Regions from separate parts of the Homo sapiens genome. Here region 2 is linked to region 1. The links are contacts of gene promoters, found by promoter capture Hi-C in blood cells and fetal thymus (Javierre and others, 2016). All regions are on one chromosome and are shown on one strand. The core of a region is centred on a gene start or on the middle of the fragment in contact, and the rest is flanking DNA. Distances in the headings are between cores, read along the strand shown. Region 1 holds the start of TMEM33 (transmembrane protein 33). Region 2 holds the start of RELL1 (RELT like 1).

Region 1 (5,322 bases), core at 1,583-4,082:
TGCAATATTGGCTTCATCTATTTTAAAAGAACATTAAACAAAAACTAATTGCTCTCAAGAGATCCATATGCCTATTCTTAGCAAAAAATCTCAAATCCGAATAGGTAGGTCTCAGAGCTGAGTAAAACATCACATAAAGCCAGTTGGGATTAAAGAAACCTTTTGAAGAAGAAATATAAAACCATGATAGTAGTAACAACTAAACTCATTCGCCTTGTAATCTGCCTACATGCACAAGGGCCTGGCATACTCTAGGTGCTCAAAATGTGGCTGACAGGTATTAAATGGCCACCTGCCTCTCTGATTACACCACTCTCTTTATCACCTCCATGTTCCCCCACAAGTCTTACCCTAGTTTCGGTGGTCCTAGATTAAACTTTCCTATACCATTTTCTTCCCCCATTTTTTTCCCATTCTATCTTTCCTTTGCTGCTTTCCCCCCAATACTTATGTCTATTACCACTAAAGCAGAATCTTAAAATGTGTTTTCTCATTAAAATGTATCTTATATTCAAAAGTGGCTTTTACATTTTTTGTCTAGGATCTTCGTAATTTTAACATTGAGATCCATATACATGGATATATAAACAAAAGTTTCACAAATATTTACCCTACTGTATATAATGGATTTTGACATTTTCTATTTAATTTTTTAAAAATAGCTGGTGTTTACACTAAACTGACTTCTCAACTCACTAATGGGTCTACCTGAAGTCTAAAAACACTGCTCTATGTAATTTAATTTCATTATCTTTTGAAAAAAAAATATAAAAAATTTGAGGGAAAAATCCAAGTACATTGTAAAATTCCAGGCTGTTTTATTTTATGTCTTTTTAACCCACATGTAGGTAATTTCAGAAATATGAAATACAACTTTGATTTATCATTAAATCCAGACTTACCGTACTGTGACTCCAATAAACTGAAATGATTAGCAGTAATCAAGTGAAGGATGAATCCAGCTTACTGTGCTCAGTTTCTCAACAAATATTATGACTGGGCACCACAGCTTGAAAGTTAGTTTTAGAACATTCTCCTTAAAATCTATTTGTTCAGGTTGTTTATTCTGCAATAAATCATTGAGCTATGCGTTTCATTTTGTACACACTTATGTATATTATACAATTTTAAAAGTTTAAGAAAGTCTATTGGTATACATTTTTTAAGAGTAAACTGTCCAACCATCAGGCAAAAAAAAAAAAAAATCACTAGATCTTTGGGTGAAAAATTGTTGAGGAGCAATATTCACACAGTGTCACAGTATCATGCCAAAGAACACTTTTTAATTAGAAAGGAAAAAAGGTATCTTTACAATGGAGAAACTGGTGGACACCACCTTAATCAAATAATCAAACAAATTCTGCAATGATGGGATAAATCAATGTAAAATGCTTCCTGATATATAATATAGATATACATATTAGATGTACCTATATATGCTGCAAAACATGTCTGGACTCTTGAAAACTATCAGTATCTTAAAAGACAAAAAAGGGGAGGAGAGGGCAGAACTGTTCTAGATTAAAAGGCAGTAAACAAGATATGGCCAGTAAATTGAATGCATGCTTTCTGAGATAGGGTCTCGCTCTGTCACCCCAGGCTGGAGCGCAAAAGCACAACCCACCTCAGCCTCCTGAGTAGCTGGGACTATGCTGGGACTATAGGAGCGCACCTCCACGACCGGCTAATTTATGTTTGTTTGTTTGTTTGTTTGTTTTGAGAGAAGGTTTTGCTCTATCACCCAGGCTGGAGTGCAGTGGCGCGATCTTGGCTCACGGCAGCTTCAACTTCTCGGGCGCAAGCGATCCACCCGCCTTGGCCTCCCAAAGTGCTGAGATTACAGGCGTGAGCCACCACGCCCCGCCTAATTTCTTTGATTTCTAGTAGAGATGAGGTCTCGCTATGTTTCCAAGGCTGGTCTCTAACTCCTGAACTCAAGCGATCCTCCCGCCTTGGACTCCCAAAGTTCTGGGCTTACAGGAGTGAGCCACTGCGCCAGCCCATCGATGCATGCTTTTTGACAGAATCCCAGATGAAGAGAAAGCAGCTTTAAAGGACAATTATGGAAATTTGCACATGGATTTTATATTAGGTAATATTTCCCAAATGTGGTAACTGCATTGTGGTCACACAGAATAATACTTAACTACTTATGGATTAAAAAGTAGAGGACAGCAATGCTCCGGGCACAAATAACTTGTTAGCTCCAGATCAGCATCTTAAAAAAATTACAAAAGCATAATGATATTTCTCTTCATAAAGAACAAAGTGAAGAAGAAAAAGACCACCGCTCTCCTCCCTTTGCATAATTTCTATATACGATTGTATAAACTAGGCAGAAACGTTCTTTGCCGGCACTCGTGTGCTCCACGTGGTGTGTGTCATGGATCATGTGTGTCATGGCACAATCTCATGCGGCATCTTTAACCTTGGGGCCTACGGTAAACAAAAGACCGAGGTGGGAGAAGAGGAAAGAAGGCCCAATTTCCATGGCATACAGGTGGGGGCCACCAGCTCCAGGTCAGCCTATTGTCGCTTCAGAAACAAACTTGTAGTTCCCTCCATATCTTCGCTCAGGACCTCCCCTCTCCCCGCTCCAACTTCCCCACCCCAACTCATTAATCCCATTCCTGAATGCACTGAGCTTCTGGAACGCCTCGGGACTCGCAACGCTTCCTGCTTCTTCCTAACTCTTGCAAATCAAGCCAGACTACCCTGCCCTCGCACTTACCACAGCGCCCGCCCCTTGGGGGCCGTTCGGGGTCGTATCTGCCATGGGGGCTCACACTAGCGTCTGCGACGCCGCAACCGCGAAGAGAGAAGAAAGGGGAGAGAAAACGTCAGCGCTGGGGCCAGGACCCGGGTACCGGCTTCCCTGCCTCGCGCCACACACAGGCCGGATGCACCCTGCCGGAACTCTGAGCCTCCACCAGGGAAGGGTCTCGCTCGCCTGGTGCAGCCGACTGGATCCAGGGCACCCGCAGCAGCCGGGAGGTACCTGTCCCGCACCGCCGAGATCAAAGCGGTGTTTCCAGAAAGACGGGAGCGAAGGTGGAGCTTCGGGGTGAAGCCCTAAAGAGCCAACCTACGCCGCCGGCTCCAGGTTATTGCCGAACCCGGAAGTGCTCCTTTCATTTCCGTGGGGAAGAGGCGGTGACAAAGAGGGGGAAACGGGAGCGGTGCCCAGAGGCATGACGGGAAGTGTGGTTTTTTTCTCCTAATTTGAGCCCCACCTGTCCTTCCGCCGATTGGCCCAGTGAGCTAAGAAATCAGGATGGGGGAGCAACTTTTGCATTAAATACAGCTCACAAATGATCTTTCCTGCCCATTCTCAAACCATGAAATTTCCGCACTTCCTGATATAGAGGCCTCAGAAACATCTTTGATTCCTTTCTCCAGGGGCTTACTAAGCCCGTTGGTTCTACGTCTATTATTAATTCTTTCAATAAGTATTTATGAGGCCTGCTATGTGACAGGCTCCATACTTGGCACGGCGGATAAAAAGAGGAATATGACACAGATTGCAAAAGAGAAACAAGTAAACGGAAATCAGAGCATAGTGATTGTGTAATATGTGTAGAGGCTGATTTAATCACAGGGAGCACAGAGGACGGTACCTAAATCAGAAGGGATCTGGGGAGGTTTCCTGGAAAAGGTAAGTCCGGGCCTTGATCTTGAACGACAAAAAGTTGGCTGAAAGTGTTACTGGTGTAGGGTGTCCAAGTTCTTGGCGTTTTGAACATAGAATTGGACAAAACGCACAAAGCAAGGAAAGAATAAAGCAACAAAAGCAGAGATTTGTTGAAAATGAAAGTACACTCCAGAGTGTGGGAGAGTGAGACAGCAGCTCAAGGGCCCTGGATACAGAGTCTTCTCGGGTCCAAATACCCCCTAGAGGTTTCCCATTGGCCACTTGGAGTTCACTTCATGTAAATGAAGTGGTGGCCCGCAATCAGTCTGAATGGTTGCGCAAAGCAACCAATCAGAGGCTGAAGAAGTTACAAAGTTACACTTCTATGCAAACGTCTGATTGGTTACAAAAAGCAACCAATCAGAGGTACTTTCAATTTCCCAAATCTGCGCAGAACAGGTTGGGGCTTGCAAAGGGAGTAGTATCTGGCCCTTTATTCACTTAAGCGTGGACAGTAAGGATTTTCCTTCAATTTAGTTCTAGGAAGTCAGCGAGAAAGGGCATTAGGTTCCCTACCGCCATACCATATTCTTCTGCCTTAAAACGGGAAGGGAACTCCATACAGAGTAACAGAAAGTGCAAGAAGTAACAGGACAGCGAGAGGACTAGTTGAGTGTGACCAGAATGATGGTACCAGTCAGGGGATTGTGAAAGATTTGCGCTAGAGAGGCAGGCAGGGGTGTACTGAGGAAAGGATCTGAACTTGACCCTGAAATCCAGAGAACCATGGAACAATTTTAATCAGAAGTGTGACATCCTGAGATTTAGAAAGTTCTCTCTGGCAACAGGGTGGAGGATGAACAGAGGGGCAAATTAAAAGTCAGGAAATTCGTTGTGAAGCCATTTATATATATATAAACTAAAAATAAAATCCTAAGTAAGGGGTCTGTCGACTGACTGGATAGATCCCTTTCTTGGCCAAGGGGACCCCAGCCATGATGGGACAGGAGATCAGACATGCCTCATTATACCCCCTCCCTTTTGTAGTTTAGACACAACTGACTAGCAACTACTTAGGCGTGGAAAGTTAGGGTTTTCCTTTCAAATTAGTTCTAGGAAGTCAGCCTATGTTTAACATGTTAATGTTACAATAAAGATCATAACATTGACAGAACAAACTCTTTGTGGGAATAGGATACCAAATTATAAACAGGACCTAAGGCCATGCCAGGCAAGGGTTAAGTCATGCACCCCCTACACTTAAAAAATAAACTATGTTCTACCACAAGAGGTTTTTTTTTTCCCTCTGGCAGCTAAACAACCACTGGCCTAGAGAGAAGCAATATTAAAACAATTACAACTAATCCAGCTCACAGACACTAACTGAACCCCTGCTATACCAACCATAGCTACAGCTTTGATTGCACAAGAGACTGATTTCAGTAACGTTCTCCAGATAAGACCACTGACCATAGGCTGGTTCTGGCCACTTTACAGAGGCCATGCACTTGTGTGCCTTCGTCTCTGCTTCACCTTTTGAGGTACAGAGCCTAACTGTAATACATTAAATATTAAGTCTCCACCCCAAGGTGAACACAGGTTGTATGTAACATGCATGTTGTTCCATACGCATGTATCAGGACTACTTTTATGAATATTCATAGCTCTTCCTGTAACCTGTTGAATATGTA
Region 2 (5,322 bases), core at 1,577-4,076, 4.2 Mb after region 1:
GAAGTTCCATTACATTGGGGTTCTTACTTTTAAAATAAAACAGTGGATTTTTAGATATACATATGTAGAAGCTATTTAAATTGTATGAATAAATCTGTAGGGTTAAGGATATGGAAAATAATTTAAGCTTGATTTTCTTTCTTTCCTCTCTCCTTCCCTTCTTCACTTTCCTCCGTCCCTCCCCCTCTCTTCCTCCTACCCTTCCTTCATTCCTTTAACAAGACATACAAATGCATGTATACGGGGTACGTGAAAGTAAGACATTTATAGAGAGTGTGTCAAGCAGGTGTTATGGAAAGTTTAGGAAGAGAAATTTCAGAGCCCTGGGTTTCAACCCTGGCTCATAGTAGATATGTCAGGCAGATCACTTAACCATCTCTCATCTGTAAAACAAAGGGCCTGGTAGATAATGGGTAAGGCTTAAGTACTAGATTTTTATATTTGAAGAGCCATAACAGATATACAATTCAAATGTGTTGTTAAAAATGATCCCGTCTTTCTTTTTTTTTTTTCTTTTTTTCTTTTGAGACGGAGTCTCGCTCTGTTGCCCAGGCTGCAGTGCAGTGGCACAATCTCGGCTCACTGCAAGTTCCGCCTCCCGGGTTCACGCCATTCTCCTGCCTCAGCCTCCCGAGTAGCTGGGACTACAGGCGCCCGCCACCACGCCTGGCTACTTTTTTGTATTTTTAGTACAGATGGGGTTTCACCGTGTTAGCCAGGATGGTCTACGATCTCCTGACCTCGTGATCTGCCTGCTTCGGCCTCCCAAAGTGCTGGGATTACAGGCTTGAGCTACTGCGCCCAGCCAAAAACGATCCCATCTTTTTAATACTAAGTCCAATCTGTGGGAAAAGAGTGAAACATGATTCAATTTTGAAATGACATTTTACATTTTGATTAGATTTCTTGATTCAAGCATTTTGTTACATTCTAACTTACAAAACCAGAGCTGGCTTTATAAGTGTGTGACCTGTGCAACTGTGTGTTTAGGAGGGCTCCACAATCGATTTAATGTTGTGTTGTTGCCATCTTGAAATTCTTAACGATTTTTGAACAGAAGGCCCTGCCTTTTCATTTTGCATTGTGCCCTGCAAATTTTATAGCTGGTTCTGGCTACAACTTCTAATTTATAGTTTAATTTCTAGGTCCGGGATTCTCTCCTGTTTTAGTTAGAAATCCACATGGATCGCTTTCCTCCGCACACATTCTCAATGTTTATGTTGATATAAAACTAGCAAAGGCTGCCTGCTAAGACTGCCAGACTGTAGGATGCGCTGCCAACTGAGCGCAGGACGCGCAGTGCCCTCCTTGGGCTTCAAAGGGCAGGGGCTCCATCCTTCAGCCTCAGCCATCTGTACTGTAGTGGCCTGAGCTTCTGTCACTGGCAATTCCCACATCAATGCAATGTTTGTAATAATAGTCCAGCAGACTGCGTGGAGGACTCGGTGAGAGAATAAATAGTCCTCTGAAAACTAGAGGTTATCAGTCACCTCAAGGATGAGACCCATCCTGTGAAAACCCACAGCCTCCATGCACCCCCTCTTCTTGCTGGTGTTGAGTATTTGCTCAAGTCCTGCCCTAATTTCCTTCAAGCAAATGCTTGATGGCCCAGTAACAACAGTCTCTACAGGGCAGTAAAAAGGAACTATTCAGAGAGAGCCTCTGAGTCCTATTAATGCTTGTGAAGATGATTCAACTTCAGAAAACACTTCTGACCTCTTAGCGTGTGCTGTCTGTCCTCCATCCAGGCGCTGAGGGCACAGCAGCGAGCAAACACAATGACAATGAGATAATTACAATTTATCATGGTGGCCCAGACATCGTGGGTTTACTCCCTGGCCTCTAATAGTCACCTCGCAGAGCTGATGTGAGGATGTGAGGAGATAATAAGCGTCTGGGCATTGAAAGACCTACTTTGCGGGAGTATGCGCAAGGTGCAATACAAGCACACGATTAAAAAAAAAAGGCAAGTTGTTCCTGAAAATGCATAGAGGTATTTTCCCCAATAGGAGCAGCTTAAATGCAAACAAACAGAGGAAGAAATTTAAGTTATCTTTTCTGCTAATTTCCAAACAACAGAACGTGACATCCAGCACAGCATCACTCCCTAGATCTGCAACCGAGGGGAATGCTAGTGGATAGACATGCCAACAGCGAAAAAAGCCTGTGCTCACTCCAGTGCTGGCCGCTTCTGACTGTCCAGTGCTTCTCGGGGCGCGCTCCCTCTTTCTCTTCCCACGCCCGCCTAGTCCCAGCGACCGAGGGAGGTTGCACCCGGGCGACCCTCCCCCCGCCCCGGGCTCCCGCGTAATCCCGGCCCGGCTTGGAAAGGAAGCGGGCCTGGCAAGTAGAGGCACGGCCGGGCCACGGTGGGCAGGGCGCAAGGGCGGGGCTATAGCCTAACTGCGCCGCCAAGGCTGCTGCTGGGTTTGGAAAGGAAGCGGGAGAGGAGGGGTCGGGCTGAGCTGTGGGTGGGGAAAAGGGCGGGGCCATGGATGGGCCACGTGCCTTCTTAGGTGGAGTCCGGGGCTCGGTAGGGAGAGGCGGGGCCAAGCTGAGGTGGGTGGAGAAAGAGGGCGTGTCCATGGCCTAGCTACGCCGCTGAGGCTGCTGCGGGGTTTGGAAAGGAAGCGGGAATGGCAGGGAGAGGCGGGATCAGGCTGAGGTGGGCGGGGAGTCGGGGGCGGAGCCATGAGTGGACCTCGTGCCGGCTTAGGTGGAGCCCGGGGCGCGCGGGGAGAGGCGGGACCGAGCCGAGGTGGGTGTGGCGTGGGGCGGGGCAATGGCGGGGCGGGGTTCGCCGCTCCCTGGGGCCCAGCCCAGCCACTCGATCAGCCCGCCGGCTCCGGAGCGGCTCTGCCTTCCCGAGCGCGGGACGCGGCGCCCTGGGGGAGGAGGGCGAAGCGACGCGGCGATGGCTCCGCGGGCACTCCCGGGGTCCGCCGTCCTAGCCGCTGCTGTCTTCGTGGGAGGCGCCGTGAGTTCGCCGCTGGTGGCTCCGGGTGAGTGTCCGGTCGTAGCCGGGGCGCCGGGTGCTGAGCCCGGTCCCGGGAGCGCGGAAGGAAGCGAGGGGTCGGGACGGCAGCCCCGCGGCGTCCTGCTTTCTGGCACAGCCGCGGGATCCCGGCACTGAACAACTGGCTGTCCCGCGGCGGTCCGGGCAGGGCGCGGTGCGTGGCAACGGCTCCCGTCCCTCCCCTCCCGCGGGCCCCGCTCCCGCCTTCCCTCCCTGGGGCCTCCTCCGAGGATCTGTGTTCCCCAGCGCTGGGCAGTGCGGGGCGTAGGGACCAGGCCTTCTTCGGGGGCGCTTCCTCCACGGCCGCTCGCCTCGGAACCCCGCGGACCCGTTTCCCGCCGCCCTTGTCCTCAAAGGCGCCGCGAGCGGAAGATCGTGACACAGAGCACCGGGTGCGCTGTCGGCGCCTCCTTCTCCCTTTTAAATACCTTAAAATATCCTAAAACCTGGAGGACTTTGAATCTCTTTCCACGTTTCCATTTATTTGGGTGGTTGATGGATTCTTGTAACAGGTCAAGGAGTCCACATTTCTTCCCATATATCCTGTATAAATCAGGCTCGGAAAAAGGGAAGGCGCGTTGGTAAACTTACATTTTTTTCTTCTTTTTGTTGATTCCTGTCGTCACGAAAGGAACCTTGTGTGGTCAGGGCAGGAAGCCACCAACAGAGATGCTAAAGTGTCACCAACGATGAAGCAGTTTTTAATTGAAATCAATCTTAAGAGGAGGTGTAAGTTTTATGGAAGTCCTATGTCACATCCTTGCTTTTATAATTACAGACACTAGGGATTCCTTACCACCGCTTCCCCTCTTAATTGCCACCTAACAGCTGCAGTTAAAAAAAAAACATACTTACTTGGCCATTTGGGGTTACTACAGCTGGGAATCTGACGTCAGCAAGCTCTTCCAAGCTTGATTTCAGCGGTGGTTCCTCCTCAGGCCCAAATAATAAGCAACTGGAAGCCTTTCAACAGTGACTGTCTCCTCCATAAACATCCATAAACTCTTCCTCCTGAGAACATTTCAGTCGCTTACAACTTTTACACTGACTTAGCAGTTTGGCCTTCACTTTTTCATAGAAACCAGAGCAGGTTGGAAGGGAAGGAGATGGATAATATTGTCTCCTGAGTCTTTTTAGCAGGCCCGTATTTCCGTTAGCCATCCACCTGGGGAAATGGCAGCTAGTGACATGTTTTACTGGATGGGACAATTTTTTTTTTCTTTTCCTTATTTTGATACAGGGGCTCATTTTGTCACCCAGACTGGAGTGCAGTGGCACAACCTCGGCTCACTGCAACCTCCAGCTCTCTGGTTCAAGTGATTCTCCTGCCTCAGCCTTCTGAGCAGCTGGGATTACAGGCATGTGCCACCATGCCCGGCTAATTTTTGTATTTTTAGTAGAGATGGGGTTTTGCCATATTGGCCAGGCTGGTCTCGAACTCCCGACCTCAAGTGATCCTCCTGCCTCGGCCTCCCAAAGTGCTGGTATTACAGGCATGAGCCACCATGCCCTGCTGGTTCATTTTGATTTTCATCCTGCGTTTGATTGCTGGGACACATAGGTGCATAATCAGGTTCCACTTGGATGTGAGGTTGGAGACATTCATTAGAGGGTTAGAGTCAGTTGCAACAGAATCTGGGGAAGAGTTTAATCTGGGAGTAAAATTATTAAAAATTCAGCACATGATGCATGTAATTAGCCATCATCAGCAGGAGAAATCCATCCCTAGAGTGGGTGTGTGTTTGGTTTGACCTCTGAGCAACACCCAGGTCTCAGGACTAGAATGTGACTGATGAAAGCTCTCATCTAATTGCATGACAGCCTTTTTTTTTTTTTGATGAAAATTAATGCGGAAGAAGAAACAGGTGTCTAAAAAGGAAAGGATACAGAGCACAAATTTGCCAGTATCTTGAGGCGTGTGTAAAGAGAAGATGCTCTGACCAGCCAACATCTGATCCCCTTGCAACCAAAGATGGTGTTAATGTTTGTACCTTGAGCATAGGGAAGTAGAGGGAAAGGAATGGGAAATACTGTTGAGTGCCTGCTGTGTGCCAGGCTTTGGGTTGAGTACTTTGTATGCATTTTTATTTTTATTTATTTTTTTCTTTTTGAGACGGAGTCTTGCTCTGTCGCCCAGGCTGGAGTGCAGTGGCGCGATCTCACTGCAAGCTCCGCCTCCCGGGTTCACGCCATTCTCCTGCCTCAGCCTCCAGAGTAGCTGGGACTACAGGCGCCCGCCACCATGCCTGGCTAATTTTTTATATTTTTAGTAGAGACGGGGTTTCACCGTGTTAGCCAGGATGGTC

What was found. The method cuts DNA at HindIII sites, captures the fragments that hold promoters and counts their contacts. A CHiCAGO score of 5 or more calls a contact.
Region 2: a contact is called between the fragment with the promoter of RELL1 here and the fragment with the promoter of TMEM33 in region 1, in 1 of 17 cell types (activated CD4 T cells). The highest score is 5.2, in activated CD4 T cells.

What each region holds. Positions count from the first base shown.
Region 1 is chr4:41,932,939-41,938,260 of GRCh38, reverse strand. TMEM33 (transmembrane protein 33) reads right to left here and starts at 2,832. Exons shown (of 7, transcript NM_018126.3): 1 at 2,732-2,832. The coding sequence starts at 2,776. LOC105374426 (a long non-coding RNA gene) reads left to right here and starts at 3,586. Exons shown (of 3, transcript NR_188374.1): 1 at 3,586-3,655. RefSeq lists enhancers at 2,443-2,512, 2,523-2,572, 2,813-2,992. The HindIII fragment of the contact is 15,520 bases long and covers 1-5,322 here.
Region 2 is chr4:37,683,880-37,689,201 of GRCh38, reverse strand. RELL1 (RELT like 1) reads left to right here and starts at 2,826. Exons shown (of 7, transcript NM_001085400.2): 1 at 2,826-3,002. The coding sequence starts at 2,915. RefSeq lists silencers at 2,128-2,437, 2,618-3,287. The HindIII fragment of the contact is 3,799 bases long and covers 130-3,928 here.